2 separate regions of the Homo sapiens genome follow, and region 1 is linked to region 2. The links are contacts of gene promoters, found by promoter capture Hi-C in human tissues and cell types (Jung and others, 2019). All regions are on one chromosome and are shown on one strand. Each heading gives the region's core, a stretch centred on a gene start or on the middle of the fragment in contact. The rest is flanking DNA. Distances are from core to core; before and after follow the strand shown. Region 1 has its middle 46 kb from the start of DSC1. Region 2 holds the start of DSC1 (desmocollin 1).

Region 1 (3,551 bases), core at 983-3,482, 46 kb after region 2:
GAAACACAGTCAACTGCTCCGGTGTCACTCGCTCCTCAAGTGGCCTGAAGCCGTCCAGCGGTCTCGGTGAGTAATGCAGTGACTAAAGCCCACACAAAAAGGAAGCAGTGCCCTTTTAATAGAGCCACAATATAAAGAAAACACTCAAGCCAGTTCCAGCTACTGTGAATGATTTATTGGGTGAGCCCTGCCCGACTAGGCCCAGCAATTTCCCATTTGTTGCGTCCCAATCCTGCCCCTCCCACATCTCCACCCTCCTGCTGCGGGCCCTTCCCAGGCACCTCCCTCTTTTTATGGTGACTGCAACTCTGCAGCTAACAGCTCACACACCACACCCTGACTCCTGCACTGGCTCAGGCTCCCTGGGATCTCTCTGCCCAACCCTCAATCCCCTCCTTCTACCTGCATGAAGCCTCTCATTAACGTGCCTTCCTTGACTCCTCTACAGACACCTCCCACTTAGATTCCTCAGCCTGTCTTCTTTCATCTCCTTTTTCATTTTATAAATTCTTTCCTAATTACCTCAAATCACAAGCATGTCAGATTAATTGAGTAAACCTCTTGAAAGTCTGTCCTCATAGACAGAGCACTCTGATGACAATCTTCCTCGAAGGGACAGCTAGACACTCGGTTAGGTCAGCTCCTTAGGTCTTGCGGCAATGCCTCATGTAAATGCTGCACGATATCCATTCGAGTGCAGACAATTGCCAATTACTGGTTAATAATTAGCATGGCACTCATTTCTTTATGGTAGTCATAATAATCGCAATAATAATAATAACTTCCATTTATTGGTCTAGAAATCACTGTGTGGCAGGTGCTTTTCATGCAGTAGCTTACTCAATCCCATAAGAACCCTTTGAAGGTAGGCATTTTTAGAGTAAACAGATGTACAGATTAAGGCAAAAAGAAATTCAGACGCTTTTTTGTTACATGGAATTAAGTACCAGAGACAGATTTCAAACTCAGTCTCTCTAAACACAAAGCCTGTCCATGCTTCCTGACAGCTCCAACCACATCCACTCTTCCCTCCATTGTTACTGACACTTCCATTCATGGTTTCTCCTTATTCATCACTCTCCTTAAAGAATTCTTTGCTAGAATTCTATAGATTCTGTTTATATAACACTTTTTCTGTCTATTTTCTTCCCTTCCCACTGCAACCACCCTGGTTAAGGTCTTCATTACCTTCCTCCTAAACCATCCAGCAACCATCTGACCAGTCATACTGTCTTGTTTCTCCCTCTAAATCCAGTCTTCACAGGGCTTCATATTTTCTCCTACTTAAAAAAAAAAAAAGTAATACGTTTCCACTGCCAATTAACTCAGGGAAACTTCTCATTCTAGCATTAAAATTTTTTAAAAAATTCTTTGTAAAATGAGATCAGTTTTTCTGTTGCCATATTTACTTTACTTTTAATGGCCATAGAATATTGCAGGAGAGACTGGGAAACAGAGATCAGTCACAGAAACAGATTTAGGCTCAGGCCTAAAAGATTTAGAAGAACTCTGACATCAGAAGAGGAGACACTGGGCAGGAAACTAAGGTGGGGCTTCATACAAAGAGTGAGTCCTTAGTCTTGAGAATACAAGCTTTGGTGCTGAGATGACCTGATACACTATGAAGACGAATTTAGCAAATATAAATTTTACCTTAATCATCTAAAAATTGTCTCATTTTTTAAAAATGCATGTTGATTCTAAAGATTAAATCCCAGATTCTGTATTAAAAAGAAAACTGTATTATGCTTCAAACAGTAAGAAATTCATTGGTATATTTAGAATCCCTTTTTGTAGTTTACTTCTATGATTTCCTTTGACTTTAAATAGTAGCTAGAGAGACCCTCTCAAGTTTACTGTTAATATTAATATATTATACATTGGGGGAATAAAAGGGATGACCTCACCTCCAGTTCTTGCTGTTTACCTTCTACACACCTTAAATTGAAATTATACGTTAATATCTCTACATTGGTGAACTTAAGTTAGTGACTAAGAGTATTTTAAGGTTATTAATCAATGACAGCAGGGTAATTCTATTTATAAGTAATGAATCCTAAAATGAATACTTGTTAAAAAAAAAAAAGTAGCTTCAACAGTGCTTACAATTCCCATAGTTTATTCATTCTTTTTGTGTATGTACATTATTTAAATAATTGAGGAAGTATATCAAAGCTTTAGAAATGCAAATAAAGCTGATTGTAATTGTAAATTGCCATCATTATTCTTTTGGATACCACAGCAATGTAAATTGAATAGCTAAGGCATGTAATTATGAAATTATTTAGTGGAAGGGGGTAGTCACTTCGAATCTACTTAGGTAAGGACCGCATGCCTCCAGCACACCTCGCCGTTCTTTAGCACACTCACCAGCATTCTTTAGTGGATGAACAATCTGATGCCTGATAAGATCATGGGGAGAGAGTGACAAAGGGTATTTGGGAGGAAGAAGAAAAGGATTAAGTTAACCAAAATGTTAAGTAGTTAAGAAACAAACAATTAACTCTTCAATTAGTAAATATTATAGTGCATGTTATTTTGAATCAGGCTGGGACACAGAACAGCAGAGGAGCTCATTCAAGTTCTAATTTAGTGTTCTCTGTAAGAGAGGACCATCTGAGAAAGTACAGTGTGCGATTTCACCCTGGAATCATTCAGACATTTGAAGGAGTAAAAACAAATTTGAACTGAATTGAATTTAAAATAGGTTTGCTAAATGTGCCCAGCTCTAAAAACTCTCCATTTCCAAACTCTGTGTACAACAACACATCTTTACTTAAATGTATTTTTAAACATATGCACGGTAAAATTTACTTTTTGTGGTGTTGAGTTCTAAGCATTGTGACAAACACATCAAGTCATATATCCATCATCAAAATTGTCATTGAGAACAGTTCCATCATCCCTCAAAATTTGCTTATGCTCCTCCTTTCTAGTAATCTTCTCCTTCCATTCCTAACCCCTGTCACCCACCCATGAGTTCTACAGCTCTATAGTTTTGCTTTTTTAGAATGTCATATAAATGAAATTCTATAATATGTAATTTGGGGATTTAGCTTCTTTCACTTAGCAAATCCTTTTGAGATTTAACAATGTCGCTTATACATATCAAGTCTGTTCCTTTTTATGGCTGAATAGTATTTCATTGTCTAGATGTACCATAGTTTATTTATTTACTATTCAAGTTTTTTTTTCCAGTTTTTAACAATTATGCACAAAGCTGTTAGAGATATTTACCTACAGGTTTTTTTGTGAGCATACATTTTTATTTCTCTTGAGTAATTACTCAGAGTGGCATCTGGATCATATAGTAAGTATATACTTAATCCTATAAAAAAGAACCAAACTGTTTCCCAAAATGATTGTAGCATTTTGCCTTCTCATTAACAATAAATAAGACACATAGTTCGGATATCTTTGTGCTGCAGTTGGGGTAATGTCTATTGACCTATGTTCAAGTTGACTAACCCTTTCTTCAGTTTGTGAAGTCTTCTAATGAGCCTTTGAATGTTCTTCTTCATCTCTGTTACTGTGCTTTTTATTTCTAACAT
Region 2 (3,579 bases), core at 127-2,626:
CTCTGCAGGCAGAGCCACTGAAGGTTTCCATTCATTAAATACTATTCCCGTCTTCAGGTTAAATCACTGACTAAGTGGCTTAGTGACACCCTTTTAGTCAGTTTCAGAGTCAGAAATAAATAAACAGGAGATGAATTGTCCAAGAGATATTAGACAGTACAGGGATCAGAAGCAAAAGAAATGTGGGTAGAATCCTTTGAAACATTTTTACCACATTTTACCAAACTTGTACTAACTTAAGATGGTATCTGAGTTATCGTCTCCCTAAGCAGTTACAGGATGAGAAGGTGACCATCAACCCTGCATTGTATATTATTTACATGGAGAAAATGTTTGTCCTCATACCTGCCATTTCTAAAAATATATTTTGAAACTCAAGTATTTTGCTAAAATGAAAAAATAGGAAACTCACACCTCAGAAATGATGGACGGATGTGTGAAATAACCCCCCTCTCTTCCCTCACCTCCAAAGAAAAAATAGCACCTTACACAGTTACAAAGCTATTAAAAACCCAAGTGGAAGCCAAGTTGAGGATATTTTCAATGACAGTCACATTTTTGTTATTTTTCTTAAACTATTCTTTGCTTAAACTGCTTCGTGGGTAAAATTCAAAAAGTCCTGGATAATTTGCATGTTCACCCAGAATCCTTTCTCTTTTTTTGCAGCTTAGTAGAACTCAGCATGTTAAATAACATGAGTTTATGTAATCACTGGTAGCAGAAGTAAACCTCAGAAACTTCTGGGCCAAATGCCTAAAGAATGAATTCACTTCTCTACTCTTAGAAAATCACCACAGCAGGATGGAAGAGGGATTCCCTTGAAAACTTTTAACACTCTGGCAGTGGGTGCTTGAGAAGTAAGCTGAACACTTTCCATCCTGAATCCCAAGCCTCTCAACTCTTCCCTGAATCTTCCTCAGATCTGCTTTTGTTTTCCCCAATCTCTCTTCTCTGCCTCCCATCCTCACTCCTAGTCTCTTTCAAGCCCAAACTGCAGAGAGGAAGCAGGTAGTAACATGCTTGAATTCCCTAATCCTTTGGTTGTTACTCACCAGGAGAGAGAAAAGGAGCTGCTTACAGAAGATGCTCCCTGGGGCAGCAGAGGCCAGAGCCATCAGAAGCAGTCCCAATGGCCAGGGACGGTGGCCAGATAACAGGGCAGCCTGGGATGCACAGAGCGGCTAAGAAGACGCTGGCACTTGCACAGGGTATTCTGCTGCCACCTTGATGCAGCTGAGCTTGGTTTGGAAGACAGTCCGGAGGCAAGTGATAAACAGTAGGAGGAGCAACGGGAGAATTTCTTTCCCCCTATTCCCTGGCCAGTCTCCTTCCTTCCAGTTCAATTACGTCTAAATGCAAAGAGGCTTTCCTACAAGTGAGGAGGGTGGGGTACAAAACACCCCAAAACCCAGTCAGTAGCTCCTCCTCACAGCAGCTTTCAAAATTTCTCTTGCCACTTAACACATAGGCAGAAGGAGGAGGGAACACCCTTCATCCTCAGCCCTCCTCCCTTTCCCCCAGGTTGATGCTGTGAAGTCCTCCCCAGTTATTACCCACTCCCACAGCCTCCCCTCCTTCTTGGCCTTATTAACCTGTCTTGCCCTCGGGTACAAACATAAATTGTGCACAAACGCCATGCAAGGAAGTGATGCCTCCTCAACTGCCATTGGCAAATCAGAGGACCTAAGCGTGTGTAATCACACTCATCAGAAGTTATCTCCCATCTAAGCATTTAAGTGTCATCGGTCCTGTAGAACACTGTAGTTCTGCTAGAGAACTGGCATTCCAGTTTAAAGCAGCAACTTCATAAAGGCATGGTATCTACTTCCTGTTATTGACTATTCACTGTGGTTGGTTCTCTAGATGTCACAGGAAACTTATCAGAATGTAAAGACTTCATAAAAGAAAGAGAATAAAGAAATAGCTAGCATATAATCTTTCTTGTGGCTTTCCTTTTGTTGTACAAGATGCCACTGCTTTTTACCTTTATATTTTTTCAAGGACAACTACAATCTTTGAGAGCAAGTCTCTCTAAAATCACTCTATTCACCCTAATTACTTGTACATTACACATAGGATATCCTAGCTTAATAGTACAATCAGGCCATCAAGTGTAGATTTTTTTAAACCCTAATGATTCCTCTAACAAGAGCTTTAGCATCATTATTCCTGTCCCAAATTAGTGAGCTCAGTGATACCAATTGCACTCAATGGCAGTGATGGAAGTTAGGACAGAAGGATAAATATTTTCAAATGTTAAGGTAGAGCCCAACACCCATGCTGCTGAGAAGGGAGGAAAGAAAGGTTTTCTTCAGCTTATTTGACAATGGGAACAATTTCTCCTTGTATGTAGAGACAGAAATAAATGTAACTGCTTCATTAGAATTAGAAGCTAGGAAGATTTGGAAAATGAATGACCCAGGAGAAAAAAAACTAAAAGATATCTTGTAGTATTTTATTGCTAGTGGTATACCCACTAATAAACATATTTTGTGACTGCATTGGAATTTGATTTCTCAATCAGAAAATACAGTCATTTTAATGGAATATTTTTATATCTGGCGTTTTGGGAGAAAAGAATGGGAATATAGAAATAGAAAAATTACTTAGATGTATATGTGTACAGCCAAGTGTAATTCTGTGCATGTTTAAGCATCATCTAAGTATATATTTAGATAGATAGATAGACAGATAAATAGATAGTCATACAGCTTAAATAATTCAAAGACAAATTCTCCAACCCTAGAAAATAGAAACACATTTTTTTCAGCTAATGAAGTTATCATTACCTTTTTCTATAACATGATATTCTCCACTGAACTAGGAAGATATAGAAGAGCAAAATTAAATTGGTGTTACTGAAAAAATGGCATATATTGGTTGGATGAAGAGATTCCAGGCACTGCTCAATTCAAATGAATCCAGAATACTCTCCACAGTTCTGGGAAGTTGATGTTCTGATCCTACTTCTTTTGGCCTACTTTCTGCGTGCTCTCTTTTCCCATTATCTATCTTTCTCAAAGGTAATAGAAAAACTTGTGTAAAAGCTAACCCCAAATTATTGGTTTGCAAATCTGTTACATTACTATTTCTCCCATATTTTGTATTTGCACACAAAGGTTTCCTAAAAATAAAATATAGGCACTTTATAGGAAAAAATAATTTATTATTACAAATTATTGACTCTTCCTTAAACGTGAATCTACCTTAAAATTAAATGAAAACAAGACATATTTCTTCCAATTTTCTGGCATTAGATCATTCAGTAAGAGCTCTGTCTTAGTCTGTTTTCTGCTGCTGTAAAGAAATACCATAGCCTGGGTAATTTATTAAAAAACAAAACAAAACAAAAACAGAAATTTGTTTGGTTCATGGTTCAGGAGCCTGGAAAGTCCAAGAGCATGGCATGGGCATCTGATGAGGGTCATCCCATGATGGAAGGCAGAAGACAGAAGCCAGTGCACAAGACAGACAGGGAAGTGGCCTAACTTATCCAGTTATCAGAAGTCCACTCTGATGATAACTAACCCACTCCCGAGGGTGGGGACTTCATGGCATAATCAACTTTTAAAGGTCCCA

Evidence for each region. The method cuts DNA at HindIII sites, captures the fragments that hold promoters and counts their contacts. A contact is called where the count stands out against the background at its distance.
Region 1: a fragment that was not itself captured here is called in contact with the fragment with the promoter of DSC1 in region 2 in 1 of the 25 tissues and cell types used here (neural progenitor cells).

What each region holds. Positions count from the first base shown.
Region 1 is chr18:31,206,877-31,210,427 of GRCh38, forward strand. No RefSeq gene overlaps it. Among named protein-coding and RNA genes, the nearest start is that of DSC1, 46 kb to the left of the region's middle. RefSeq lists an enhancer at 1-450. The HindIII fragment of the contact is 3,155 bases long and covers 656-3,551 here.
Region 2 is chr18:31,161,480-31,165,058 of GRCh38, forward strand. It overlaps DSC1 (desmocollin 1), which reads right to left and starts at 1,377. Exons shown (of 16, transcript NM_024421.2): 1 at 1,053-1,377. The coding sequence starts at 1,115. DSCAS (DSC1/DSC2 antisense RNA) reads left to right here. Exons shown (of 4, transcript NR_110785.1): 4 at 1,056-1,310. The HindIII fragment of the contact is 13,832 bases long and covers 1-3,579 here.